7 separate regions of the Homo sapiens genome follow, and all the other regions are linked to region 1. The links are contacts of gene promoters, found by promoter capture Hi-C in blood cells and fetal thymus (Javierre and others, 2016). All regions are on one chromosome and are shown on one strand. The core of a region is centred on a gene start or on the middle of the fragment in contact, and the rest is flanking DNA. Distances in the headings are between cores, read along the strand shown. Region 1 holds the start of MED6 (mediator complex subunit 6). Region 2 overlaps PCNX1 (pecanex 1). Region 3 overlaps PCNX1 (pecanex 1). Region 4 overlaps PCNX1 (pecanex 1). Region 5 overlaps PCNX1 (pecanex 1). Region 6 overlaps PCNX1 (pecanex 1). Region 7 overlaps PCNX1 (pecanex 1).

What was found. The method cuts DNA at HindIII sites, captures the fragments that hold promoters and counts their contacts. A CHiCAGO score of 5 or more calls a contact.
Region 2: a contact is called between a fragment that was not itself captured here and the fragment with the promoter of MED6 in region 1, in 6 of 17 cell types (total CD4 T cells, naive CD4 T cells, naive CD8 T cells and 3 more). The highest score is 8.7, in total CD4 T cells.
Region 3: a contact is called between a fragment that was not itself captured here and the fragment with the promoter of MED6 in region 1, in 1 of 17 cell types (naive CD4 T cells). The highest score is 6.9, in naive CD4 T cells.
Region 4: a contact is called between a fragment that was not itself captured here and the fragment with the promoter of MED6 in region 1, in 1 of 17 cell types (naive CD4 T cells). The highest score is 6.0, in naive CD4 T cells.
Region 5: a contact is called between a fragment that was not itself captured here and the fragment with the promoter of MED6 in region 1, in 4 of 17 cell types (naive CD4 T cells, naive CD8 T cells, total CD4 T cells and 1 more). The highest score is 9.1, in naive CD4 T cells.
Region 6: a fragment that was not itself captured here is called in contact with the fragment with the promoter of MED6 in region 1 in 1 of 17 cell types (naive CD4 T cells); the score reaches 6.0 in naive CD4 T cells.
Region 7: a contact is called between a fragment that was not itself captured here and the fragment with the promoter of MED6 in region 1, in 1 of 17 cell types (naive CD4 T cells). The highest score is 5.0, in naive CD4 T cells.

Annotation. Positions count from the first base shown.
Region 1 is chr14:70,598,405-70,602,199 of GRCh38, forward strand. MED6 (mediator complex subunit 6) reads right to left here and starts at 2,251. Exons shown (of 8, transcript NM_005466.4): 1 at 2,212-2,251. The coding sequence starts at 2,233. RefSeq lists an enhancer at 1,753-2,952. The HindIII fragment of the contact is 992 bases long and covers 2,106-3,097 here.
Region 2 is chr14:70,978,861-70,982,980 of GRCh38, forward strand. The region is part of intron 6 of PCNX1 (pecanex 1); the gene reads left to right. Among named protein-coding and RNA genes, the nearest start is that of PCNX1, 73 kb to the left of the region's middle. The HindIII fragment of the contact is 3,810 bases long and covers 1-3,720 here.
Region 3 is chr14:71,019,830-71,023,750 of GRCh38, forward strand. PCNX1 (pecanex 1) reads left to right here. Exons shown (of 36, transcript NM_014982.3): 13 at 3,371-3,403. Among named protein-coding and RNA genes, the nearest start is that of PCNX1, 110 kb to the left of the region's middle. The HindIII fragment of the contact is 751 bases long and covers 2,177-2,927 here.
Region 4 is chr14:71,051,565-71,055,574 of GRCh38, forward strand. It overlaps PCNX1 (pecanex 1), which reads left to right. Exons shown (of 36, transcript NM_014982.3): 24 at 319-448; 25 at 3,940-3,998. Among named protein-coding and RNA genes, the nearest start is that of PCNX1, 150 kb to the left of the region's middle. The HindIII fragment of the contact is 1,627 bases long and covers 1,255-2,881 here.
Region 5 is chr14:71,001,524-71,005,502 of GRCh38, forward strand. All of the region lies in intron 8 of PCNX1 (pecanex 1), which reads left to right. Among named protein-coding and RNA genes, the nearest start is that of PCNX1, 96 kb to the left of the region's middle. The HindIII fragment of the contact is 5,736 bases long and covers 1-3,979 here.
Region 6 is chr14:70,913,132-70,917,212 of GRCh38, forward strand. The region is part of intron 1 of PCNX1 (pecanex 1); the gene reads left to right. Among named protein-coding and RNA genes, the nearest start is that of PCNX1, 7.7 kb to the left of the region's middle. The HindIII fragment of the contact is 4,522 bases long and covers 120-4,081 here.
Region 7 is chr14:70,949,478-70,953,619 of GRCh38, forward strand. All of the region lies in intron 2 of PCNX1 (pecanex 1), which reads left to right. It overlaps LOC105370557 (a long non-coding RNA gene), which reads right to left. Exons shown (of 3, transcript XR_944008.3): 2 at 103-281. Among named protein-coding and RNA genes, the nearest start is that of PCNX1, 44 kb to the left of the region's middle. The HindIII fragment of the contact is 326 bases long and covers 2,579-2,904 here.

The DNA of each region.
Region 1 (3,795 bases), core at 1,001-3,500:
GCGGAGGTTGCAGTGAGCTGAGATCGCGCCACTGCACTCCAGCCTGGGCGACAGAGCGAGACTCCGTCTCAAAAAAAAAAGACATGAAGAAATGTGTTACGAGACTACAGAGGACCTGGGGAAACGAAAATCATTTTTCATGTGGAGAGAAGGTGGGTTTTAGCACGGTATGTTAAAGAATAAATAAAAACTTACACAGAGAAAAGGGCAAAGTAATTCCAAGCAGAGAGAATGTATATACAGAGGTGTAAAAATATAAAGTATATTATATCTTTAGAGAATAATTTCATTAGGTGAAGAAGTGATAAGATTTAAAATTTAGAAAGGACTTTTTTTTTTATTGGAAATCCTTAATGCTGGCAAGGAATTCAAAATTTTCAAATAACATGTATGCCCAAGAGAACACATCTATAGCTACCAGTTTGAGATCTCTCAATTAGGGATAGAGAAGTTAGGAAGCTATTATTGTAGATGAGATGATAATGATGTAAAAGCTAAGGGATAAACAGGAAGTAGAGTTCCCTTAACTACAGCCACACGGTTTCATATTTAGCGTAGAATTAAATCATAGCTTTTAAAAAGACATGATAGAGCTAGATACTTTTAATAAATGAGCTTGTATTGGCTATTGGCTTTCATGATGCTTCATACCACTGACTGTACTGAACACCACTAGGTGTAAATCATGAACATCAAAATGCCTATACAATACTGGTTGAAAAACTTCAATCTCTCTTATACTGTCATTACCTCAGGCATCTTCAAAGAAGTCAGACCTAATTCAAGGTGACAGGCAGTTTTGAGCCAAGTGACTCAACCGAGAAAAATTATATAAAGGTAAAATGTACTTTGTGTGCTATAAAATAAAGGAGGAGACAGATGAAGTGCGTTAATAACCAAATAATTAGTATAGACCATTTAGATAGTTCATCATAACTGGATCATGCAATAACCAAATACACAACAGGCCAGGAAATAACATTTTCAGAAATGGCCTCCTAACTGGTTTTCCTAATTCTACCCTTGCCCTCCTACACTGTTCCCAGCAGCCAATGTAGTCCTAAAAAAAAGTCAGATCACATCATTCCTCTGATGGAAACCCCTCCAATGGCTCTGCGTTTTACTCAGAGGAAAAGCCAAAGACCTTATCATAGCTTTCAACACCTTTCTGACTTCATCTCCTTCCCACATCCTCTCTCACTACCCTCCAGCCACACTGACCTCCTTGCTGTTCCTTTAACACACCAAACACACTCTTATTTTAGAGTCTTTGCCATGATCCTAACAATCTGAATTATAAGTAAAACATTTTATAAACTAAATATTTCTCTTTTTTATTCTGTAGCAAGGCAACATGTTGACATAGCCCAAGCATTCTAACAGCATTCTAACCATCAGCAAGTGATGAAATAAATAATGAAAGACACGTATGTAAAATCATGATCCAGAAGTGCTGCAGATCGCCAGATAAGTATAAATGAGAATATTTGTAATAAATGTGTTAGACCCCAATCCAGTTAATATTAAAAAAAGGCATCTCAAACATCTCCCTTTAAAAATCAAGTACTATATACACAAAAACAACTCTACATGCTCCCCAAGATCAAGCAGCAGTTAAGGGGTGACATCTCCATACATTTATTCACTGACTGATTCAATATTTGAGTACTTCTGCAGTTCAGCTGTGAAAAAAATACGACCCCTGCCCATAATAATTGCTGGACGTTCGATGTAAAGTATTATCGACTCAAAAAAAAAGAAAATATCTGGGATTCATGCTCAGGGACCCGTGTGGCGCGGTCTAAAGAATTAGGCAGCCACCATGCCAAGTCCCAAGAGATGAATCAAATCAAGTTGGCTTATTACCCCATTCCCTTCTCTGCCTAAACGCCATTCCTTCACTCCAATAGAATAGCCCTAATGTTGTTGCAGAGATACGTGTGTAGAACAAAACTCCAGCTCTGAAAGCTCAAAACCCAGAGCTTCTTCCAACCCCTTCTCTCCGACGCTTCCAAGAGACGCTCCAAGAACTCAGAAAAAAAAAAAAACTCGTCAACGTTTCGCTAGATCACAGCCTTGGGTTGTCCACAAAAACCACTCAAAAAAGCTTGAGACTTCACACAAAGGAACCTAAACCTTGAAACCGCGAGCTATAACATCCCAAACTGGTCCACAGACAATCAAGAGACAAAATATAGCAATACAGTATACCTCGGATATCCACCGCCGCCATAATTCCGAGAGCGTTTACAGGTTCTCTTTCCGGCGCAAAGTAAACGTAAGCCTAGGCCGCCGGAAGCAGCGGGTTGAAGAGAGTGCGCATGGGTGAGGAGGGACGTAGAGCGGAAGAGGGGGCGGGGCGGGCAGGAGAGAGGCAGGGGGTGGAGGTGCGGGTGGGAGGGGAGGAGACGCGAGGGGGCGGAAAGCGGGAGAGGCGCGGGAGGCGGGAAACGTGGGGTGGGGTGGGGTGGGGTGGGGTAGGGGAATGGGAGGGGACGGGACGCAGAAAGATTGGTGCAGGGGAGCAGGGAAAGACTAGAAGAGGGATGGGCCAAAGAAGGAGAACGGGAGGGCGGATTACTGGGAAAAAAATTAGAAGACTTAGAGGACAGAAAGACCGAGTGGAGTCCCGCCCCACGCCCACCACTGATGGAAGAATTCTGCCTTGATCGTCTGTGATCGTCAAGAAAACAAATTCTGATGCTGTAGAGTTGTGCTTGGGAGTGTCTCTTAATTTTAAAAGCTCCCCGGGTGTATCCACTGAGCTATCAGATTTAGGAACGATGGTCATTTATATTTTTCTCCCTGCCTCAGGTATTGGGATGGGACAGGACTTAAGAATTTGGGAGTCATTGGCTTTTATGTGACTAAATCCATTAAAAATCTAAACCAATTAAAGAAGCCTCTGAGAAAAATTTCACAACACAGGAAATGCTTCTGAAGTGAAATATTAATAAGATTAAGAGAAAGGGAATACCCCTGGGTCCCAGAGTAATGAGCAAATGTCTGCATTCCAAGTAGTCTGGAGTAGGTAGCAAGGCTCCAAAGAGGGAATGATTCTGTGTACGGGGAAGCTACAGAAAGCCTCAGATTCTCAAGCTTCAGTGTGGCTCTGTAAAAGCAAAACGATACAGAAATATGCAAACAACACACAGATACTAGGAAGAGGATGCCAAAATCTGAAGGAGGGATGAGGGCGGGTGCCTACATCTTCTCCAAAACTTAGGTACTGTGAAGACTCCCCAAGAATTTAACCACAACCCAGGAGCAAGAGGGGAAGACCAGAAATTTAATTGGGATTTTCAACCTCATAGACAAGGAATTAAAAATTTGTTAACTCCGTAGAATAAAAGTACGTTGCCTGTACATTTCAGTTTGGGAATTTTCTGCCTGAGATGGTATGTATAAAATAGGTGTCCCAACAGAAGTATGTGCATGCACAGAGTAAAGTTTTGAGAGAGAATTTTTCAGGAGGGCCTGGTTGGGAGCCTAGTGGGAGGACATTGCAAAAAGGAAGAGTATCGTGTCCAATAAAAAGTGTGATCCATAAAGCTTTTTGTTTTGTTTTTCTAGTTTTTTGTTTCCTTGTGTTTTGATTAGGCTAGAAGGAGATTAGGAAGAATAGTGACAGAATGCAGATCTGTAGATAATAAAACATATGGTATGCATGGTAAATAAGACCTGGAAGCTCAACCTTTATTTTGTAGGCAATGGGAGAAATGTGATCAAGCTTCCATTTTAGAAAGATAACTTGAGGAAGACAGGGCAAGGTGGCTCACGCCTGTAATCCCAGCA
Region 2 (4,120 bases), core at 566-3,065, 380 kb after region 1:
ACGTCAATTTGTTCTTGATGGTGTCAAGAACACCAGTTTCTAAGCCAGTTGCCACCTGTTAATGTTTTGCTGGGAATAACAAAAATTAGCCCTCTTCCTTTGTATAGCAATAGCAACAATAAAATATATAATTATTTAAGGGCACCAAACCAGTTTTAATCAACTCTTATACAGTATATGACACTGAACTTTCAAAATTAGATCACTCAGCCTATTATATAAGAGTTTTACAAATATTACTTTAGATCTGATTATGTACATTGAGAATTGTGGCTCTTTTTTTAAGTCTGTATCTTTGGTTTTATTTCTTGCTTACTCAAGTTTTAGGCGTTACGAAAATACTATTTTTTTCTATAATTTCACACATTATTCTTAAAGTTTATTAAATTCAGATTTGTAGTTTATATTGACATTTGGTATCCATTAATTGATGTAAGATGCCCCCATAATAACAGTGATGGTGTTCTGGTTAAAGTAATAGCTTATTTATTTCAGGTTTTTGGAGAATTGTGCAAATTTGGATAGGTGATTTTATATTCTGTCAGTGTGTGTTGGCCTCTTTATTTCAGAGTTATTTCTTGCTGTGTTCTTCTGCCCAAGATAGTTTGTTTATTTGGTTCTGGTTTTTATGGAATCTGCTTCTTGAATAGAATCAGAAAAATCAGGTCTTTTGTTGTTAGTACCTTAGCATTTTTAGCCTCTACCCCTATTCCCTTTATTTATGCTTGTATCATTAGTTTTAAAGTTATAGTCTGTTTGATACAGTAATGTTCAGTCATTTATTAAAAGTTAAGCTGGATTTTGTTTGTACAAACATTATGAAACATATGAATATATGCTTTTTCTCAAAGATGTTAATTTCACCCGAAGTATTTTAAAAGTCCATATTGTGGTAAACATTTTCTTAGATTTTTTTGGGGGTCAAGTTTCTAGCCAGATTAATTTCTAATGGGAACGTAAAGAAATTTTCTAGTACCTAAAGAAGAATATAGTTTATCAAACCTAAATATTGAGAACTAATTATATCTGAAGTGGTTATAACCATTTGGTGACAGTAGAGTAATTAAATTCCCTCGAGTCTTTGACCTGGATATAGTTCTCTCTTTTTTTTTTTTTTTGTAAACAACCTGAAATGCTTGTAGTGATTTCTCACACAAATCATATCAGATATGTTCACAGTATGCAAGAAACCATTGGATTTTAAAATATAGCTTAATTTTTAAAGTTATCAAAATGAATTTTAAGTCAACATGCTATGATAGAAAAATATTGCTGTTCTGAATATTGTGGAAATGTAAATACTGAAAAAATGTGTACAAAAATATGTAGTAAATTCATGCGTTTATATTTAAAATGTCATTTCCTTTTCATGGGGACTGTGAGGTGTTCTGTTTTTTAGGAAAAGTTACCTGAAAGGTGTTATTTGCTTCTCGGTGCTGTTCTTTAAGCTATATTAGCCCTTGTTTTTCTAGGCTCTAGCTTTTGTTTTCTTTTGTTTGTACTGCTTTTTTTTAATTTAAATAACTCAATTAAATGTTAATAAGAGATAATGAAATAAAAATATCTGCTTTGGTGGAAGAAATGTAATAGTCTGTGGGCTGTTTAAAAACATTTTTTTGCCTGGGGCAGGCATTGCACAGGCTTTTTTAATTTGAGCTTCATTGGGTTTAGAATACAAATAAGAGCAAAACTAAAGCACTTAAATGTGTTGGGGGTTTTTTAATTGGTTTTTATCATAACTAAATATAGGGGTTTTGTTGGGAGTTTACTTGGGCTTTTTGAAAGGTTGGAGGTGGTAGAAGGGGATTTGTTTTGGTTCTTATTATTTAAAAATTACAGAGACTCTCAAATACTGTTTAAAGATACTTGTTTATGTTAACATTATCTGTTACAGTCCTGTCTGACAATTTAGAAGAAATGTTTCTGGGCTATCCTTCCTTACATACTGTACTACTGAAACCTGTCAACCATCATGTTACTGCTTGGCCATTCATATACCTATGCATAAACCATAGGTAGATTTTATCCTAAAGAATATGAAGGTGTCGATAAGTTCTCCAACGATTTCTTTTCATTTTATTTTAAGGTAGGTGGTGGTGGTAGTGTAGAGAGATGGAATTTAGGAAATAGACTTTAAAGTACTAAAATAAAGTATGCTAAAATAGGAGGTAATCTAGTTTAGTGACATGGAGTCAGATACCTTTGTTAGTATGTGGGCTCCACTGTTGTGACTCTAGGAAAGCTACTTACAAACCTCAGCTTCCTCATCTTAAAATGAGATGATTATAGTATCTATCTCATAGGGTTGTTGTGAGGACTAAGGAGTTAAGTTCCTGGCACACAGTAAATGCTTACTAGTGCTGCTGTGACTGTTCAAGGCCAGTTAGTTATGCTGCACAGTGTAGCCTGTCGTTTAACCTTACTAATTCAGTGGTATAAAATTAAAGTAGAAGAAAGTGATTAAATGTAGAAATAAACTAGAGATAGTCTAAGTGTGCCATTGTGAAACTCAATAGTAAAAATAAAAAATTCTGATTCCCTAGTTTCTTACATAATGCCAATAGGAAAAACATTTTTATTAACATCAATTTAGTGACATGGACCTTATTTTGGCAGTAATATGTCATATAACATCTTTTTTAGTCACGTAACAAGTGATTGTTTTCATACGTCCTGTCATTAGTCAAGTTCTTTGGTTAAAACTGAATTTCATCAATAATGGTTTGTGATTACTGAGACAGGAAATATGTTTTAAGTTCAAACTAAGTCATTTTCTGTTGATCTCTTGTTTTGTACTTAATTTTTCTTTTTAAATTATAAGGCATATCTTTATGACTAATATTTTAAGAAATGAAAACTACATAGAAGCTATATGGTAGAAAAATGTCCTGTGTTTTCTAGCCTGTATTACTTTTAAGGAAGTCGTTTTCTTTTGGACCGTTTAAACTTATTTCCTGTGTGATTCAATACTGTTGTTATAGCATATTTTCTGTGTCACTTAATGGATTACAAAGAATAGCCCGAGTGGAGAGGTTTGTGTTTACTTACTATTCTTTGTGCTTTTTTTCTGAATTGTTTAACTTCTATTTCTCTGTGAAATTTATTTTAAATATAATGTTTGAGTCACTATTCTGTAAGCATGAAATAGGATCCTAATATAATATTGTGTTGGGAACCAAAAATAATCTTCAAAGAAACAATTATTTAAAGAAAAGTCAGATCTTTTCAATAAAAATTTATGAGGGTTTGTGCTATACACATAAATTGAAGGTGTGTTATTTTGTACCCAGATATCATTGAGCATTAGACAGAAGATAAAGACCAGTAAACAGACAATAAAATGCAAATTGTAGCTTTTGTACTTTACTAAATAGAAGGACTCTCAAGTCTAATAAACTTAATTTTCTGATTTCCCAGTTCACATGGAAAGTTAGAAGCAGTAAATTAGTAGAAGGGATGGGTACTTATAGAAGCTGAAGTAATGACAGCAGAAGAAATACACAGCTAACCCTAAAAGAGAAGCTGTAATAACTGTACAAGCCAAAGCAGGAAACCCAGCGGTGTGTGGTCATTAAATGCAGGGACAGACTATCATTTTAATAGTGTTCAAAGACATCATAATAGCATAACTTAATACTGTATTAAAGTATAATGCTATACTCATTGTATATGTGGCTGACCTTGATTTCATTAAGGAAAGATGTTCTTTACTGTGAAAAAAGCTTAGACATATATAAAACTGCACAGAAGAATGCTTATTAAATACAGCAAAATAGGTTTGGCAAAATTATCTTCCTTTACAACAATATCAAGAAAAGTGGTGTTTATTGGTGAAGCAAATAAATGTTTGTATATAGAATTCCCAAAACCAGCCCATGCCAGATTTTTTCAAGTAGGAACAAACATTACAGTGTTTTTCTTTCTCTCAGCAGTGAAGTTCTGGGAATCCAACGGTTACATTTTCATACCACCTCTAATTACTGTCTTAATATTCTGGCAGGCCATTAAATCTGTGCCTCAATTTCCTCAACTGTAAAACAGGAATAATAACCGTCTAGACCTGTCTCACAGTTAACTGTCAGACTCCAATGAGCTTAAACCTAATGACTGTAGAAATGTG
Region 3 (3,921 bases), core at 1,302-3,801, 420 kb after region 1:
TACACATGCCATGGTGGCATCCCACCCATCCCACCATGCATCCCACCATGCACCCATCAACCCGTCATCTACATTAGGTATTTCTCCTAATGCTATCCCTCCCCTACCCTCCGCCCCCTGACGGACCCCCTCCTTGTGTTCCCCTCCTTGTGTCCATGTGTTCTCATTGTTCAACTCCCACTTATGAGTCAGAACATGCAGTGTTTGGTTTTCTGTTCTTGTGTTAGTTTTCTGAGGATGATGGTTTCCACCTTCATCCATGTCCCCACAAAGGACATGAACTCATCCTTTTTTATGGCTGCATAGTATTCCATGTTGTATATGTGCCACATTTTCTTTATCCAGTCTATCATTGATGGGCATTTGGGTTGGTTCCAAGTCTTTGCTATTGTGAACAGTGCTGCAATAAACATACGTGTGCATGTGTCTTTATAGCAGAATGATTTATAATCCTTTGGGTATATACCCAGTAATGGGATTGCTAGGTCAAATGGTATTTCTGGTTCTGGATCCTTGAGGAATCGCCACACTGTCTTTCATAATGGTTGAACTAGTTTACAGTCCCACCAACAGTGTAAAAGCGTTCCTATTTCTCCACATCCTCTCCAGCATCTGTTGTTTCCTGACTTTAATGATTGCTGTTCTAACTGGCTTGAGATGGTATCTCATTGTGGTTTTGATTTGCATTTCTCTAATGACCATTAATGATGAGCTTTTTTTCATGTTTGTCGGCCACATAAATGTCTTTTGAGAAGTGTCTGTTCATATCCTTCACCCACTTTTGGATGGGGTTGTTTGTTTTTTTCTTGTAAATTTAAGTTCCTTGTAGATTCTGGATGTCAGATGGATAGATTGCAAAAATTTTCTCCCATTCTGTAGGTTGCCTCTTCACTCTGAAAATAGTTTCTTTTGCTGTACAGAAGCTCTTTAGTTTAATTAGATCCCATTTGTCTATTTTGGCTTTTGTTGCCATTGCTTTGGTGTTTTAGTCATGAAGTCTTTGGCCATGCCTATGTCCTGAATGGTATTGCCTAGGTTTTCTTCTAGGGTTTTTATGGTTTTAGGTCTTACATTTAAGTCTTTAATCCATCTTGAGTTAATTTTTGTATAAGGTGTAAGGAAGGGGTCCAGTTTCAGTTTTCTGCATATGGGTAGCCAGTTTTCCCAACACCATTTATTAAATAGGGAATCCTTTCCCCATTGCTTGTTTTTGTCAGGTTTGTCAAAGATCAGGTGGTTGTAGATGTGTGGTGTTATTTCTGAGGCCTCTGTTCTGTTCCATTGGTCTTTATATCTGTTTTGGTACCAGTACCATGCTGTTTTGGTTACTGTAGCCTTGTAGTATAGTTTGAAGTCAGGTAGCGTGATGCCTCCAGCTTTATTTTTTTTGCTTAGGATTGTCTTGGCTATGTGGGCTCTTTTTTGGTTCCATATGAAATTTAAAGTAGTTTTTTCTAATTCTGTAAGAAAGTCAGTGGTAGCTTGCTAGGGGTTGCATTGAGTCTGTGAATTACTTTGGGCAGTATGGCCATTTTCACAATATTGATTCTTCCTATCCATGAGCATGGAATGTTTTTCCATTTGTTTGTGTCTTCTCTTATTTCCTTAGCAGTGGTTTGTAGTTCTCCTTGAAGAGAAGCCCTCCCACAGCTGGAAAACCATTGACATAGTTCTGTTTTTACTAACAGCTGTCCATCCTTTCTTTCTCTTCTCCATTTATAGCTAGACATGTGGAGTAAGCCACCTAGGTCATCTGCTTTATTTCTTTAAGACCCATCCATACTTTCCTCATTGCAGTACTGAAATTATAGTCTTTGTGGTTGCTAATGATCATTCTAATTGCTAAATTGCTTTTCTTAAGTCTCCATGCTTTATGAATGCTACATCATTTAATACCTATGTATACTCTTCCATTTTGATATTCTCCTCATTTTTGATCATGACTTTATACCACCCTCATGTTTCTTTCACTTTTCAGATGACTCTCTTTTCCTTTGTTGATCCCTCTTTGTTCTTTCAACTGCTTAATTTATGAGAATTCTCTAGGACTTATGTGGTTATCTTCTCGGTTTACAGTTCCTTTCCAGTGAAGTCATCCTTTTTTATTGCTTTATTTGTTGCCTTTGTATATGAGTTATTTCCAGATTTATATCTCAAAGTCTTCACCTCTTTTGCAAGCTTTAGTCCTGTGTATCTAACAGACATTTTAAAAATAGCAAATTAATCATCTCCTGGTTAATTTTTCTTTCCCAATATCTTTGCTTTTGGCAGTGATATACCTGCTAAAAATCTTTGAGTCACTGCTCCTTCCTCCTTGATCACTAATAACAAGTAACCCAGTCCCTTTGATGACATTTAATGATTGTATATTAAAATTACTGGTTGTCAGTCTTGCACTATACCTTTAGTGCCCTAAATCATTTAAATTCATTTTGCGGCTCTAGTGTCTCCATGGTCCAATTAATTTTGTCCACTGCTTTCAGGTTAATGTGGTTAAATATGGAAAAGGTAAAAGGTGACAGATTTTTGCAACTAGTTGACTAGAAGAATAATAATGTCATAAACAGGGATAAGAAAGACAAGAACAGAAGCATTTAGAAGATAGGCGCTGTGGTTAAAAGAGTTTAAAGATTATCTGGAGTCAAATCTAGCCAAGGGCCAAATGCCAAACTCAGTGAGCTTGGCCCAGTATCGAATGGTAGGGTGGTGATAGATAATCCTAGTGAAATTGTATGGTATGCCATTGGAAATGAACTGAAACTTGGGAGAAAAGTCATGAGTAGGGAAGTAGCTGCATAATACCTTCTGAACATTTTTATGGGAAGTTAATAAAATCTCTTAAAAGGATACAGCTTAACTTATTTGATTATTTTGATATGAAAATGCAGATAATATCTTTATTACAAATACCATTGAATTATTTAGTAAGCTTGGAATTTATGGGCAGAACTAGAATTGTTGTTATAAGTGAACCCCTATTATTGTATATTTCCTGAATGAATGATGTCCTGTGAGAAATACTATACTTGTATTTAGTATACCTTAACTCCACTTGTATATAGCAATAAGCCAAACAGTAAGATGGCTCTGTCTATCATATGCTATTGCAGAAACTTTAAGATAGATACAAATAAATACATAATAATCTTATTTCCTGACTCTTATCAGGAAAGATTTGATATGTTTTTAATATCACAGTGACACTGGTATCTGGAGCTGATGTTTCATCTCTGGAACAGAATTATTAATATAGGTCATTTTGTGGTTGTGGAATATTTACTTAAAATCATTCATTTCAGGCATTTTGAAAGTTGGTTGTAAAATTAGCAAGACTTCAGGAGTGTAATTTGTCTTTCTGTTTCATTTTTAGAGTGTTCAACCAGATTCTTCTTCTCCCAGACATGTAAGTCACTCTTAATATGGCTGTACATTATAGGTCCTTAACATTTATCATAATATTTGTGGTTTGTTTTTTGTTTTTTTGTTTTGTTTGGAATGCATCAGCCTGAACTAAAATTTATGTTATTATTTTCCTCATCTATGTTTTGACACACTACTAGAAATATAGGTGTTTTGTTAGCTTGAAATAAAATGACATTGTACTTGTGGACTCTAAATCTTGGTTGAAAATGAGCATGATAATTCACTTTTTGATAGTCTGTTTCAGGGAGTAGACATGGTTCTTATAAACTCATGATTATTTGTGTTTAATACATTTTGAATAATAGCTTATGAATAGGTATTGAAAATAGAATTTTGAAGTAGGAAAAACTTTATATTATTTCACTTGAGTAACCATTAGGAGCAAGAATAAAGAAGTAATACCTGAGTCTGGTGTTAAGACCATTGAATAAAAACTTTGTTATTCACTTCGTGACTTTAGACAAAAATATTATCTGCCTAGCACTATTTATTGTGAAA
Region 4 (4,010 bases), core at 818-3,317, 450 kb after region 1:
CAAGTTTTAGTTTTACCCTTGTGGAAAATTGAACTCTAACATCTCTTCCCAAGATTAATATATGAATTTTACCAAATACATATTAGCAAATACTGATTTGGCTCCTTTGAAAGCAGCATACCAGGTTGTACTTTATGTATGTCTTTCTGTTGGTGACCCCTTAATGACTGCCCAGTGATATACCTTCTTTTGTATTCTTCTGGTGAACCTCAGTTCTCTAATTGAGGTAATCTAAATGTGTCTGCTAGGTTTTTGCGAGGGTTTGTTTGGCATCTGTGCTCAGATGAATGTCAGTGTCCTTAACTAGTTTTCCCATAGATTCAGCCATGCTGTTTATTCAGGCTGCTGTCTCGGCCTTCTTCTCTACTCCACTGAACCCCTTTCTGGGAAGTGCAATATTCATCACTTCATATGTCCGACCTGTGAAATTCTGGGAGAGAGACTATAAGTGAGTAAAGTAAAACACTTGAAAAACAATTTTTATCTTTCCTACTGGGAAAAACTATTGACAGCATTATTATTAGAATTTATGGTTCATAATTTATTGTGTTGAAATATTTATTTTTGCTAAAACTTAATAAATAGTCTTAAAATTTGAAAAGTATATAAAAGAAGAGGCCAGAGGAAATTACTTTTTATTTTTCTTTCTTTCCTTTTTTTTTTTTCATACAGGGTCTCATTCTGTTGCCCAGGCTGGAGTGCAGTGGTGCGTCTCTGCTCACTGCAACCTCCACCTCCTGGGGGGCTCAAGTGATCCTCCTGCCTCAGCCTCCTGAATAGCGAGGACTACAGGCTTGAGCCACCACGTCGGTTAATTTTGGTATTTTTTGTAGAGATGGAGTTTGACTGTGTTGCCTATACTGCTCTCAAACTCTTGAGCTCAAGTGACCCACCCGCCTCAGCCTCCCAAAGTGTTAGGATCACAGGCATGAGCCACTGTGCTCAGCCATTTTTTCCTACTTAAAAGATATTTTTAAACATTGTTCTGATTGAATATGTTCATGTTTATATTTTTTCTTTCAGTAATATTGAATTATTTCACATTAATAATACTCTGCAACTTTATGCTATATAATATCGTTATAACAGTCATAATGAGTTATAGTTTTCTTAGAAATACCTGGCTATTTCTAAAGCTAAATTTTTATAGGTTATTTCTGCTATTTTGAGAAGATAAGTTTGTAATGACCATCTTTGTGCATGAAGTATTTTCTCCATTTAGGCTTAGTTCCTTGGGCTAGCTACTTAATCTGAAGCTTAGTAACTATCCTTGTATGTAATCTCTCCAAATTTCATTTTGTTTCAGAAAGCGTTCCTAAAAGGGAACGCTTTTAGGAGTTATGAGTTATGGAGCATAAACATTTTTAAGGCTTTTAATATAAACACATTGGTTTAGAAAGAGCTTGTACTAATTTATAATTCTACTGACCATCTCCATGACTGCCTTTCTCTCTATACTTTCACAAATTGGCATATTTAATAGGTGAAAATTGTAATCTCACCTTTTAAACAGTGGGCTAGTTTGTAGGTTTGAAACTTTTACTCTGGTCCTTTATCTAAAACCACACATGATATTTCCCATTTTGGTGAATTTTGGTGTTATTAATTATTATTCCTCTGGACCAATTAGCCCAAAGTAATGTTCAGTGGCTGCAGTTCTTAACTTTTTGGATTTAGAACCCCTTTATACTCTTTTTTTTTCTTTTCTTTTCTTTTTCTTTTTTTGAGACAGAGTTTTGCCCTTGTCATCCAGGCTGGAGTGCAATGACACAATCTCGACTCACTGCAACCTCCGCCTCCCGGAGTGCAATGGCGCCATCTTGATTCACTGCAACCTCCGCCTCCCAGGTTCAAGCAATTCTCCTGCCTCAGCCTCCCGAGTAGCTGGGATTACAGGCGCCCACCAGCACACCTGGCTATTTTTTGTATTTTTAGTTGAGATGGGGTTTCACCATGTTGACCAGGCTGGTCTTGAACTTCTGAGCTCAGGTGATCCACCCGCTTCGGCCTCCCAAAGTGCTGGGATTACAGGCGTGAGCCACTGTGCCCGGCCTTATGGTCTTAAAAATTATTGGAAACACCAGAGTTTTAAAAATATGGATTTTATCTACTAATATTTACTAGAGTGGAAAGAAAAACTCAAAAATTTCAAATGTTTACTTATTAACTAATTTAAAAATAACAATGTCGTATCTATTGTATATTAGCATAAATAACATTTTAAAGTTAAGAATAACTATATTTCCACTCCCCCAAAAAATTAGTGAGAAGAGTGGCATTGTTATATAGTTTTGCAAATCTCTTAATGTCTGGGTTATTAAAAGACAGCTGGATTCTTGTATCTACCTGTACATTCAGTCAGGTGCAGTATATTGTTTTGATTGAAGTAGCTGAAAAAAAAAATTCACCTTCACTCACCATGTTGGCCAGGCTGGTCTCAAACTCCTGATCTGAAGTGATTTGCCTGCCTTGGCCTCTCAAAGTGCTGGGATTACAGGCATGAGCCACCTTGCCCAGGCAAAAAAGAAGTATTCTAATAGCCTTTTAAGACAATCATGGATATTTTTCTTTGATCTTTCACTGAAACCCAAGAAATGGGAGCTTCTTAAAAGCTACTTGCAATATGGAATCTAAAACCATATCTGTGAACTTGTGGGACTATATTACATCAAAATTCACTCATCTGTCTTATATCCTGAATGGATCTTTTACCCATGCATAATTTTTTAACATTTTGTGTTGGTCATTTGGAAAATACTGCTTCACTGAGTAATGTAGATTTTCTAAATGTTGATACATTTTATTATGTAGTGAATTTTAAAATATGTTCATTGGCATCACCACCAATCGGAAAGAAATTTTAATTATTGGGAAGTTGTCAAGCTTATGGTGGTAGATAGGAGTTTCCCAAATTTTAATTTTTGCTTGAAAATTTGGATTTTTATTATTGTCAACAAGTATTGCCAGTTGTTTTCCTTGAAATAACAGGCTCACTTTCTTTATTTTTGGGAAATATCTGTTAAATGACCACATCTAAATAATCTCATAATTTTTCCATCAGTGTTAAGTAAAAATGGTGTTCCAAGAAAAAAACGCAGCTAGTTCAGCTCGGAGTTCAAGCAGTTGCACAAATACTTGCCCTCATGACAGCCGTTGTACTTCAGAAGGCAGCAGAAGTGCTTCATACGTATTTTCTCATTTTGCCATACAGAGTATTAAAAAGGCCTTTACTGTGAGTTGAGATTTATTAAGGTTAATACTTTTTATTGCTTCATTAGGGACATTTTTTTGTGAAACTTGGACTTTTTGTTTGCTTTATTGTGCAAGTGTGGCAGCGAAGGGTAGAACAGTTTGGTGCTGCTGCCTTGATTAATGCCCAGGCACCACAGTCTTACCTACCATTGCTTTAGTACCACCAGTGCAGTTGTCAACACAGTGTAAAAAGCAAATAACAGCTCAGTGTTACTTTGAAAATAGTTTTGATCTGGAAAACTGCCTGAAAGAGCCTTAGGTTCTGTGGACCACATTTTGGGAACTACTGTTCCAAAGAACATTGCATCACTGAGCATTAATACATACACCTTCCTTTGGCAAAGAATGTTCTAACCTCTTTGAATTTTTAAGAACCATATACAGTATACATTTTTTTCATCCTGGTCAGCTTTTTTCTCACAGTGCATGCCTAGATGTCTTTCCATACACTGTACAATAAAAAAAAAACTGCTATGTTCATGTGTGGTGAAGGGGGAAGAATTTTTTTTTAATTTCCAAAAGTGTGCTAAGGCATTTTATCATTATACTAATCACAGATTTTTTCCAGAGATTTTCATAAAGTGATAACCTTTATTTTATACATTTCCTATAGTTTCTTCCTCAGTCTAAATTGTTAAATATTTTTTAATGTAAAGAAAGTTACTAAAAATGTTTTATTTTCTTTAGCACAAAACGAGTGGATCATTCAAATACCAGATTGGCTTCCCAGCTTGATAGAAATCCAGGTAATAGCTCTA
Region 5 (3,979 bases), core at 1,334-3,833, 400 kb after region 1:
CAAATAGTTTTGGGTGCCTGAACAGCTCTAGGAATTTTACGGAAACTTACAGGGACAGGTTGAGATATTTAATTTGTCTCTTGCTAGTATGTTGTAAAGAATTCATTGAATCACTAGACTAGATTATCTGCTTTCTAACATTAATCATTCTTAAGATTCTAAATTAAAGCTGGTTAGTATATGCATTAGTTGGAATATATGCTAGATTCTTTAAAGGAGAGACCCTTCCAAAATCATTGAAATGAAAGAGAAGTTTCTATTTCTCTCATGAGAACCATTGGGAGTCTAATGGGATCTATTTCTGTCATGATGGATGAATGATGTTATCTTTCACATGTGGCTTTCTTGCCTTGTCCTAAGTGCCTGCTGTAGTCGTTGACATTTTCCAGCAAACAGGAATGAGGAGAAAAGGTCAAGGACATCTAGCCTTTATCTTCCTGATTCAGATTTGGAAAACATGCCTTTCGTTTTCTCCCACCTTTCATTGGCCATACATAATCATGTGACAACTTCTCGTCGTGGGAGAGGCTGAAAAATGTCTCTAACTAGGTGGACAGAAGCCCAGCAGAAATTCAGTGAGGGGAAGATTCCGTTCAGAGGAACACAGAAAATACTCTTGGCAGTGGCTGTCTTTGGGTAGTAATGAACTTTCTTCTTATATACTACTTTTTAATTTTCTGATGAGTAATAATTTTTAAATGGAACCATGAAACAGAACGGCAAATACCAATGTAATTCCCCCAAATCTTAGTATCTGGTAGGAATTTCACTGACTGTTTGCTGCTACATGCTCATCAGACTCTTACCTGGTCAGTCTTTATTTTCTTGTTTCTTCATCAATTTTATGGATATATAATTTAGGCACAATAAATGGCATCTGTTAAATGTATACAATTCAAGGAGTTTTAACAGATGTGTATACCCGTCAGATACCTTAATCAAGATGCGAGTGTTTCTGTCACCTTCAAAAAATTCTCTGTGCCTTGTTGCAGTCCATCTCTCTGCTGCCTCTGGTCATAGACAACCACTAATCTGCTTTCTATCATTATGATTTCCCTCTTCTAGCAGTTGATATAAATGGAGTCATATAGTATACAGCCTTTTGTATGTACTTTTCCTGTAGTGTAATGCTTTTTGAGATTTCATCATACTGCTTGCATGTGTGAGTAGTTTGTTCTTTCTTACTGCTGAGAATTCCATTGTATGAGCAGGCTGTATATTGCTTATCTGTTCACCTGGCGATGGTTGTGTTGTTTCCCGTTTTTGGCTGTTGTGAATAAAATTTCTGAACTGTCTTTTTGAAAAGAGTTCTACATCCCCACCACCAAATTCCAGTAGTTCCCTTTCTTGCCAACATTTGCTTTTGTTGGCCTTTAGAATTGTAGACATAATGGGTATAGAATGGTAACTCATTGTGGTTTAAATTTGAATTTCTCTTATGACTAAAGATAGTAAGCATCTTTTGATGTGCTTATTGGCCACATACATATATATCTTCTTTTGTGAAGTGTGTCCAGAAATTTACTCATTTTAAAAATCGGGTTGTTGGTTGTCTTCTTTTTTTTTTTTTTTTTTTTGAGACAGAGTCTCACTCTTGTTGTCCAGCCTGGAGTGCAGTGATGCAATCTCAGCTCTCTGCTACCTCTGCCTCCTGGGTTCAAGCGATTCTCCTACCTCAGCCCCGCAAGTAGCTGGGATTACAGGTGCGTGCCACCGTGCCCAGCTATTTTTTTATTTTTGTATTTTTAGTAGAGACGGGGTTTTGCCATGTTGGTCAGACTGGTCTCGAACTCCTGACGTCAGGTGATCTGCCCGCCTCGGCCCCCCAAAGCGCTGGGATTACGGGCATGAGCCACTGCGCCCAGCCTGGGTTGTTGGTCTTCTAACTGTTGAGGTATGAGTTCTTTTGATATTTTAAATACAACTTATTTGTCAGATACAAATTACAAATATTTTCTCCCATTCTGTGGCTTGTCTTTTTGTTTACCTGACCAGTCTTAATGTCATCAATGTCGTTATTATAGATTATTTTACCCAAGTAAGAAGAACTTGTCTTTTTGAAATAAAATGTGAGTGGATAATGAAATCACAGCAAAATATGAACTTGTACATTCACTTTTGGAAAGTTCAGCTGATTTGGGGATTAGCAAGCAGGAGTGGAGTTTTTAACAATTAATTAAGGCATGTTTTATTAACTCAGAACTAGATAATCAGATAGCCATGTCAGTAAAATATATCAGTATGTAAATCTCACTTATAGTTGCCAAGCAATAGAGATATCTGTCTTTCCTTACCAGTCCCCAAAGCTGTCTTCTAAACCAGACTTTCTTCTTATACCTACCTTTTCCTTATCCTTCTGATTTAAAAAGCTAGAACAGCATTGCACATACTAAGAAAAAAGACTTGTTCTAAATATTGAAACTTGAAGTTACAAGGACATAGTGACCTGATTTCCATTGTATCATGAGGATTAAAGAAGTTTTTGGAGCCTAAGATTCTTGGTCTAGGACAGGTGTTAGTAAACCACCGCCTGTGGGCTAAGTCCAGCTCTATACCTACCTGTTTTTGTAAATAAATAAAATTTGTGTTTATGTTCTGTATTGTCTTATGCCTGCTTTCATGTTACAGTTGTAGACTTGAATTGTTGCAACAGAGGTTATCTGGCCCATGAAGCCTAAAGTATGTATTATCTGGCCCTTCACAGGAAAAGTTTTCTGACCTTTTTATTTCTCCCCTAATCTAGGGAGAAACAAGTCCATTAACCCAGGGGTCCCCAACTCCCAGGCCATGGACTGGCATGGATCTGCGGCCTGTTAGGAACAGGGCTGCACAGCAGGAGGTGAGCAGGGTGTGCGGAGCGAGCATTTCTGCCTGAGCTCCGCTTCCTGTCAGGTCAGTGGCAGCATTCAGTTTTCATAGGAGCATGAACCCTATTGTAAACTGCACATGCAAGGGATCTAGGTTGCCCACTCCTTATGAGAATCCAATGCCTGATGATCTGAGGTGGAACAGTTTCATCCTGAAACCGTCCTCCAATCCCCTGGATCCATAGGAAAGTTATCTTCCATGAAACTGGTCCCTTATGCCAGAAAGGTTGGGGGCCAGAAAGGTTGGGGACCGTTGCATTAACCAGTAAGCAGCAATATAGTGAGTAATTTCTGTGTGGGTAAAAACTGAGTCACCACTTATGATTATAAGGGGGGTGCTATCCAAGAAATTAGAATTGATCTTAAAGGCCTTCTCTTTAAAAGTATAATATATTCATTGAGATTGCATTATGAACACAGTGCTATCTCCATCAGATTATTTCTTGAATAACATTTCTATTATTGAGTACTTCAGTCATATAGAATGTATATGTTCCCCCAAATGTCTTTTAAAAACTCACTTTATACATTTACTGCCCATATATCTCTCTTTGTTTTTATAGCCCCTCTCTGCCCTATGAGTAATACTTAAAAAAAGAGAAGTCAGTGTAGACAGTGCATCAGGCTTGGAGGACACAGAATGAAGGGAAGGTTGGGGGAGGTAGGTGGTTAAAGAAGAAAATTATCCAAGAAATTTAAGAGACCTCTTTTGTTGTTGGTACTTGGAAGATTAGAAAAACACTATGGATGATTTGTTGTTCTAGTAACCACCTCCTTCCAAGATACATATAGGTAACTTTAGAAAAATGAGTGATGTCAAGAATGCAACAGGCTGGGCGTGGTGGCTAACACCTGTAATTCCAGCACGTTGGGAGGCTGAGGCAGGAGGTATCACTTAGGCCCAGGAATTCGAGACCAGCCTGGGCAGCATAGCAAGACCCCCATCTCTACAAAAAAGTTTTAAAAAGTAAGCCAGGCACTGTGGCGTGTGCCTGCAGCCCCAGCTACTCAGGAAGCTGAGGTGGGAGGATCACTGGAACCTAGGAGTTTGAGATTGCAGTGAGCTATGATTGTGCCATTGCACTCCAGCCTGGGTGACAGAGTGAGTCTCT
Region 6 (4,081 bases), core at 1,131-3,630, 310 kb after region 1:
GAGGGCAGGGGCCAGGTCTGATTTACTCATCAGTGTTTATCAAGTGTCTGCATGACTGCCTGGCTCATATTAGGATCTGAAGAAGTATTTGTTGAATGAATTTTTTATTATACATGTGAAGCTTTTTTAGACTTGTTAACTGATGTAGAATAGTTGGAGGTGGAGGGAGGATTGTGGTAGGCTGTATCATATGGTGGAGCTGCTTACTTAGGGGTTAGGTTCGGTGTCAGTCTCTACAAGACAAAAATCAAATATAAAATTACTGAAAAATCAAATACAAAATGACCCTTGAAAAACACTTAAGTCATTGAAAGTGCAGTACGTATGGCTTTTTGTGCATACAGCTGTGTGGTTATACATACATACATGATATATACAGTAATATATACCACATAAATCTGTGGAGAGATTATATTCAGACTCTAAATCATTAACAAAATTTATAAAGGTTTCAACATTTTCTTCCTAGTTGTCTTCATTGTTTTCTGTAACTGATCTTTGTCATCTTTAGAATGATATATCTTTTATTAGTGAGGATTACGCTAAAGCTCTCAGGTCATTTTCTTTCCCCCAATTTAAAAGTATTTAAAGATCATTTTAAACAAGATTTAGTTAGGGTGACTAAAACAGGGATTTTCATATTTTAAAATTTATATTTCTCTAAAAGTTTAGATCAAGCTAGAAAAGTTACTGTGCTATAAATTAGCAATTTATATTGCTATTGCATATTGTACATATGATTTTTAAGTATTATTTTCTGCATCCTTTAGGGGAAGGTTAATGACTAGTGGATGGCCTGTTTAGATCTATTAGCCTGTGCCCTTTACCAGTATTTTCAATATTTAGGATCAAAGTGAGTCTAATTATTTCCATAACTGGTCATGGCACAGATATAACTCTTATGTATTATATTACCTATAATAAATTAAGGGTACACTGTCCAAAGATGGTTTACACAGAAAACCATCTACCACATGTTCTCACTTATAAGTGGGAGTTAAACATTTGGATACCCACAGATACAAAGAAGGGAACAATAAATACTGGGGATTCCAAAAGCGGGTAGGGGGCGAGGGTTGAAAAGCTATACATTGGCTACTGTGTTCACTACTTGGGTGACAGGATCATTAGAAGCCAAACCTCAGCATCACTTAATATGCCTATGTGACAAACCTGCACATGTACCTTGCTGAATCTAAAGGAAAAGAAAATTAGACCTCCAAGAAAGCAGCCATATTTGTCAATTTGTAGAAAAGTGTATTAATTTACAAAAAAAGCAGTTGATTTATAAAATGTTCTGTCTTTTGTGACGTAAAGGTGGAGTGTTTTCTCCCACTTGAAAATTACTCCAAATCATAAAATCATTTGGTGATTGGAAAACTAGGAAAGTTTCTATTTTTTTTCTAGCCTTTGAATACACAGATTCAGTCAGGTAATTTGCTTTCTCTAGCTGACTTTACTGAGAGTTAAATCTTTCAACATTTTATTAAAGAATTTTCAAACATATAGGAAAGTTGAGAAAATTGTACCCACCACCTGGATTCTGTGTTTTTAAATATTGTGTCTCTATCTGTTTTATTCCTCTATCTGTCCACCCTTTTTTAGGGAGATGCATGTAAATTAAGTTACACTTCTATACAAATCACCCCTAAACTCTTCAGCAGGTGCATTGTCAGGTAGGTTCTAAAGGCACAATCTTCAGTGAACCATTCGATGAGTTTTGATAAATGCACACGTTTGCGTAGTGTAGACTTGGCATGTTGTAGAATATCAGCGTCACTCCAGATAGTTTCTGCTTGACCTTCTGAGTCAGTCCTCTCATCCTTGTTCTGACTTTTTTTCATTATAAATTAGGTTATCCTGTTCTAGAATTTCATATAAATGGAATCATGTAGCACATGCTTTGTGTAAGCCACCTTCACTCAGCATAACGTGGTTGAGATTAATCCATGGTGTTGTATCAGTAGCTTTTTTCCTTTTTATTGCTGAGTAATATTCCTTTGTATGACTGTGCTACAGTTTGCTCACCTTTATCCATTCCCGTGTAGATGAGCAGCTAGGCTCTTCCCAGTTTTTGGCTACTATATGTAAAGATGCCAACATGAGGATAGGTTTTATCAGAACTCAAAGACACTGGAAAACTTTACGGAATCTCAAAACCCTTTTCTCTTTCCAAATAAGACCATGTTTTAATTTAAAAATCTTTTTGTTCAGCTGTTCTGATTTATTTGTCTAAATCAGAAATTATAGATAAGTAAAAAGAAAATACAGCCATTGGTAATTCCATCACCCCTGTCTGTAGAACATTTTAGTAACCAAAATATATTTGGAGTTTTAAATACTACTTTGATTACAAAAATGGGCTCATAGAATTCATACTGTTTTCAAGTCTCCTATTTTCACTTTAAATTATGAGTGTTTCCATGGGTTGGGGGTAAGTGGCTTTTTAATAGCTCTGCAGTAGATCATATGTGTTACAGTTTAATCATTTACCTCTTACTGGTTATGTAAGTCATTTCCAGGTTTTAGCTATTTAGAAAACAGTAGGGTGAATACTCTTGTAGTTAAATATTTGTACTAGTATTTTGTATAAATTCCTAAAAATAGACTTGTTGGATTATCTTCTTTGATAAATACTCATTTTACAAATACTGAGTGAATCTTTATATTGAGAGAGAATATAAATATGAGAATGAGAAATGGGTAGATAATGCAGGGTTCCTGGAATACAAAATAGGATTGTGGTCCAGAAAGCACATGTGTTAAAGGATTATCCTCAGAGCAGGAAGGAAGGAGGCAAGGATGAAGGGATAAAGGATGAAGGATGAAGGGATAAATCATGGAGGAAGGGATAAACAGTTCATGGGAAAAGTTGAGGTTCATCTTTTATGATTTATGTAATCTCCTTAGAGGACAAAGTGAGTGTGTTCTGTTGAGAGTGAAAGAGGAGGTGAAGAGGATATTTAAGGTTTGAGGGAGATCCCCCAAATGTGACATGCTATTCTTACTTTTGGTAAGTGGAAAAGTGAACTATCAAGGGATGGTAGGATTGTTGAACAATTTTGAAGGTATCTTTGAGATTGGAGAACATGAATTCAGAGTGTCGAAGAGGAATGTTCAGGAGAGAAATCTGGGGTAAAATTTACTTGCAAGTTATCAGCATGTAGATCTTCTGGGAAGAAAGTTTATCTCATTAAAAAGAAAATGGCCTTGGACAGAATTCCAAGGCCTAAACAGCATTTAGAAATCAGCAAAGGAAGACAGAGTTGTAAAATGAAGACGAAAAAAGAGCCAGGGAAAGAGAGTACAGGCGTACCTTGGAGATATTGCAAGTTTGGTTCCAGATCACTGCGATAAAGCGAATATTGCAATAAAATGAGTCACAAATTTTGTGGTTTTCCAGTGCATATAAAAGTTATATTTACATTATGCTGTAGTCTGTTAAGTGTGCGGTACCATTGTGTCTAAAAATACAATGTATATACCTTAATTAAAAAATACATTATTGCTTAAAAATATGCCAAGGATTATCTGAACCTTCGGCGAGTTGTCATTTTTTTGCTGGTGAAGGGTCTTGCCTAAGTGTTGTTGACAGACCAGGGGGTGACTGTTGAAGGTTGAGGTGGCTGTGGCAATTTCTTAAAATAAGACAACAATGAAGTTTGCAGCATCAATTGACTCTTCTTTTCATGAAAGATTTATCTGTACGTGTAATGCTGCTTGATAGCGTTTTACCCACAGTAAAACTTCTTTCAAAATTAGAGTCAGCTGTCTCAAATCCTGTTACTGCTTTGTCAGCTAAGTTGATGTAATATTCTAGATCTTTTGTTGTCATTTCAACAGTGTTCACAGCGTCTTCGCCAGGAGCAAATTGGATCTCAGGAAATCACTCTCTCTGCTCACCCATAAGAAGCAACTCCTCATCTTTTCAAGTTGTGTCATGAGATTACAGCAATCCAGTCACATCTTCAGGCTCTACTTCCAATTCTAGTTCTCTTTTTGTTTTCACCACATCTGTGGGATTTCCTCCACTGAAGTCTTAAACCCCTCAAAGTTATCCATGAGGGTTGGAATAAACTTC
Region 7 (4,142 bases), core at 1,492-3,991, 350 kb after region 1:
ATACACACACACCTTAAGCAAATTGTGATATTTTACTTGACATTTATAAGTAGTATACTTTACTTAACCTATTGTAAATTTGTTTGAATTGTATATTCTTACCTTAGAAACTTAGCTGTTTCTTTCCTAGATCTTTGCAAGACTGACTTCTTAGGATTCAACTGTGATTCGATGTCAACTCCTCCTGGAGGCTTTCCTTTCCCATCCCAGCTGAAGTGATCCCCCTGTTGCTCAGTCACATTCTGTAGCATGACCTTGGCCTTGCCCACTTTCCACTTTACCTATTTGACAGAAGTGTCTACTTTATTCATAGTCAAAAGTTTGTGACCTTACAGAAATTAATAGGTACCCCTAATATAACTCTTGGAAAATTTGTGAACACTTGACATACCTCAAAACAATTCTAGCAGGTAGATGCTGTTATTATCCCTGATTTACAGATGTGGAAACCAAGTTGAGAAAGATCAAATAATCTAAGCAGTTGTTTCCACTGAGCATAATATGAAATATTTCAGACATCAAGACATAAATAATGTAAGAAAAAGTGGGCACTCCTCTCTTAAGACAGGTGATATTTCTGTATATTTTCCAGGGCATTGAAAGCCTTTGTTTATTCCTTTTCAATTACATTTTTTTCCTTATTCTTAACATGAGTACCCTGTTTGTTAATTAAACACGTATTTTAGCCTCATAATTTTTGTTTATTGCCTTAATCACTATCTGAAATTATCTTAACATTTATTTGCATTGATGAACTTCTTGAAGGTAATGACCTTATTGTTCTTATAAACTATTATATTCCCAGTTCCAAAATCAGTGTCTGGCAATGATAGGTACTCAGCAAATATTTGAAGTAGTGAAAACGATTATTCTGTGATATTATGTTTAATGATGCACAGTATCTCATTATGCCAATGTATTTTATCCTATTTTAAATTATATCAATCATTTTGAAATTTAAATATTAGATAACTGTGATGTTTAAATTTTCAATGATTAAATGTTCTATCATAGTTTTTCAGAGGTGGAATTACTAGAAATGCTATGCACATTTATAAGTTTTCCAATATGTATTGCCAAATTCCCAAGATTTTACCATTTAATGACTATGACCAGAAATTCAGCTGCCTCTTTTTTTTGCACTTTTGACAACTCTTGAGTATTTAGTATTTTGAAAAACTGTGATATCTCATTGTTTAATATTGTTTAATATGTAAATAAATTATTGTTTAATATTCCCGTTTTTGAATTACTAGTGAAATGGAGGTATTTTTCTTATTGCCATTTATATTTGTTATTCTGTGAATTGTATATTTTTCTATTGGTGGATTTTTTTTTGCTATTGATTTTGGAACTTTTTTTAAATAAAATATATTAGCTCTTCTGTGTCAAATACTCTTCCTCAGTTTATAGCATTTTATTTGTCAGTGTCTTTATATCCTGTAATTTATTTTTCTGTGGTCCAATTTTGTGTGTTTGTTATTTCTGCTTTTGATAACGTTTTCTAAGATTTTCCTTCCCTCAAATTATATAAATATACAATAAATTAAGATCTTTGTATCTACTTTCAGTATTTTTATCATTTTACTTTTTACTCTTAAATTGTTGTCAGTTTGAAAACATTTTAACTTAATTTGTTTAGGTTTGTTTATCACAACACCATTCATTAAGTAACAAATTTTTTCCCTGTAAATTTAGATGCTTTCTTTTTCATGTAGTATACTGTATATACTTATGCTAGTTTCTGAACTTAGTTTTCTGCTTCATCTTTCTGCCTTTTTTCATTTATACCATACTGTTTTTATCATAGTGGCTTTATAATATGTTTAATACTTAGCATTGTGAGTGACTCCAGTATTTTACTTTTTTGATATTATTATTTTTTTGGGGGGCGGGGGTTGGTTGGTTGTTTGTTTTGAGATGGAGTCTTGCTCTGTTGCCCAGACGAGTGCAGTGGTGCGATCTCGGCTCACTGCAACCTCCACCTCCCAGGTTCAAACGGTTCTCCTGCCTCAGCCTCCCAAGTAGCTGGGATTACAGGCATGCACCACCACGCCCAGCTAATTTTTGTATTTTTAGTAGAGACGGGGTTTCATCATGTTGGCCAGGCTGGTGCTGGACTCCCGACCTCAGGTAATCTGCCTGCCTCGGTCTCCTGAAGTGCTAGGATTACAGGTATGAGCCACCACACCTGACCTTTTTTGATATTATTTTGATTATTCTCATGCATATACTTACTTTTGTGAGATATCTTCATGTGTGCTTATCCTCCAGAAAATTTCGTTAGAATTTTGATGACAATTCTATTAAATTGTAGAAACTCAACTTTTAAAATAGGGATATAGATGAGAGATTTCCATTTATTTTCTTATGTTTTTATTTATCATCTCTTTATTCACTTATCTTTTATGTCTTATAACCTTTCACATTTTTTAAATGGTTTCTGTACATTTCCTACGCCTATTCTATTTCTGTTAAGAAATGCATATTCGTACATTGTGGATAAGTGGACAGAATGTAGACTTCACACTCAGTCAGTCAAGGCTTCTTAATTGTAAGACATTGGAGAAGCTACTTAAGCTTTTGAGTTGGCTTTCTTGTCAGAATGATGAGGAAAATAATGGAACTCTCTCATAGGATTATTACAATGAATAAATGAAATAATATATAGAGAGTTCTTAGAATAATTCCTGACACATGGTAACACTTGATAATTGTTCTAATTATTTCTGGATATTATATATATTTGTCATTGCTTCTGAATTGTTTTTTCCATTTTCTTTTACTTTAAAAATTTTTTATTGTGAAATATGTATTCCAAACACTAAGTTAGCAATAATCAAGTGACTACTTCATTACCTACCACACAGCTTAAGAAATAAAACATTATAAAAATACCATATAAGCTTCATGACATTCCTCTCCCATTTCATTCCACTTTTCCCTTCAGGAGTAACCATAATCTTGAATTTTTTGTGAATAACTCCCTTGCTTTTCTTTATTGTTACACACTCTTCGTAGATATTCCTGAATATATTTATTTATTTTTGTCTGCTTTAGGACATCCTAAGAGAATCATACAGTATGCATTTCTCTATGAGAGATTTTTTTTTTGCACAGTATATTATACTTTATTGACTCACGCATGGTGATGTTTGTAGCTAGAGTTTATTCATATTGACCTACATGTAGTCTGCCACTGTAAGAATAGACCATAGTCTATTTATTCATTCTTCTATTTATAGCCATTCAGATTATTTCTAGTGTTTTTTGTCTTGTGGTACATGTGTATATCTAGTTTATGTAAGCTGGTTTATAGGGCATTTTCATGTTCAATTTTATCAGGCAATTCCAAGCTGTGTGCCAAAATGATTTTACCAGTTTATACTCTCACCGGTAGTGTATGAAAGTCCTTATTGTTCACATCTTCATCAACATTTGATATTGGTAAACCTTAAAAATTTTCCATTCACTTAGCTATTGATTTGGGATTTAAAAGAAGAAAATTGGCTGGGCAAGGTGGCTCCTGCCTGTAATCCCAGCACTTTGGGAGGGAGAGATGGGAGGACAGCTTGAAGCCAGGAGTTCCAGATCAGTTTGGGCAACATAGTGAGACCTTGTCTTTACAAAAAATAAAAAATAAAAAAAAATTTTAGCTAGGTATGGTGGTGTGCACCTGTAGTGCCAGATACTTGGGAGGCTGAGGCAGGAGGATCACTTGAGACCAGGAGTTCAAGAGTTCAGTGGGCTTTGATCACACCACTGCACTCCAGCCTGGGTGGCAGAGCAAGACCCTGTCTTGAAAAAATTTGCCATTCATGAAATGTAAAAGGTGTCTCATTGTGACTTTCAGTTAAGCTTTCTGATTACTACTGAGGTTAAACATTTTATTTTTTTATATATGGTCCATTTAGGTTTTTTCTTTTTTCCAATGCTCATTTATGTTTTGTTTCATTTTTCTTTGGAGCTGTCTTTTTCTTAATGATTAATAGGAATTTTTTATTTTTTTATATATTCATGCTATTCCTTTATTAGTTATGTATATATTACAGTCATCTCCCACTTGTGGCTTGTCATTTTGCTTTCCTTAAAGTTTCTTATGATTATCATATACTCTTAAATTTAGAACAATGAAATTTACC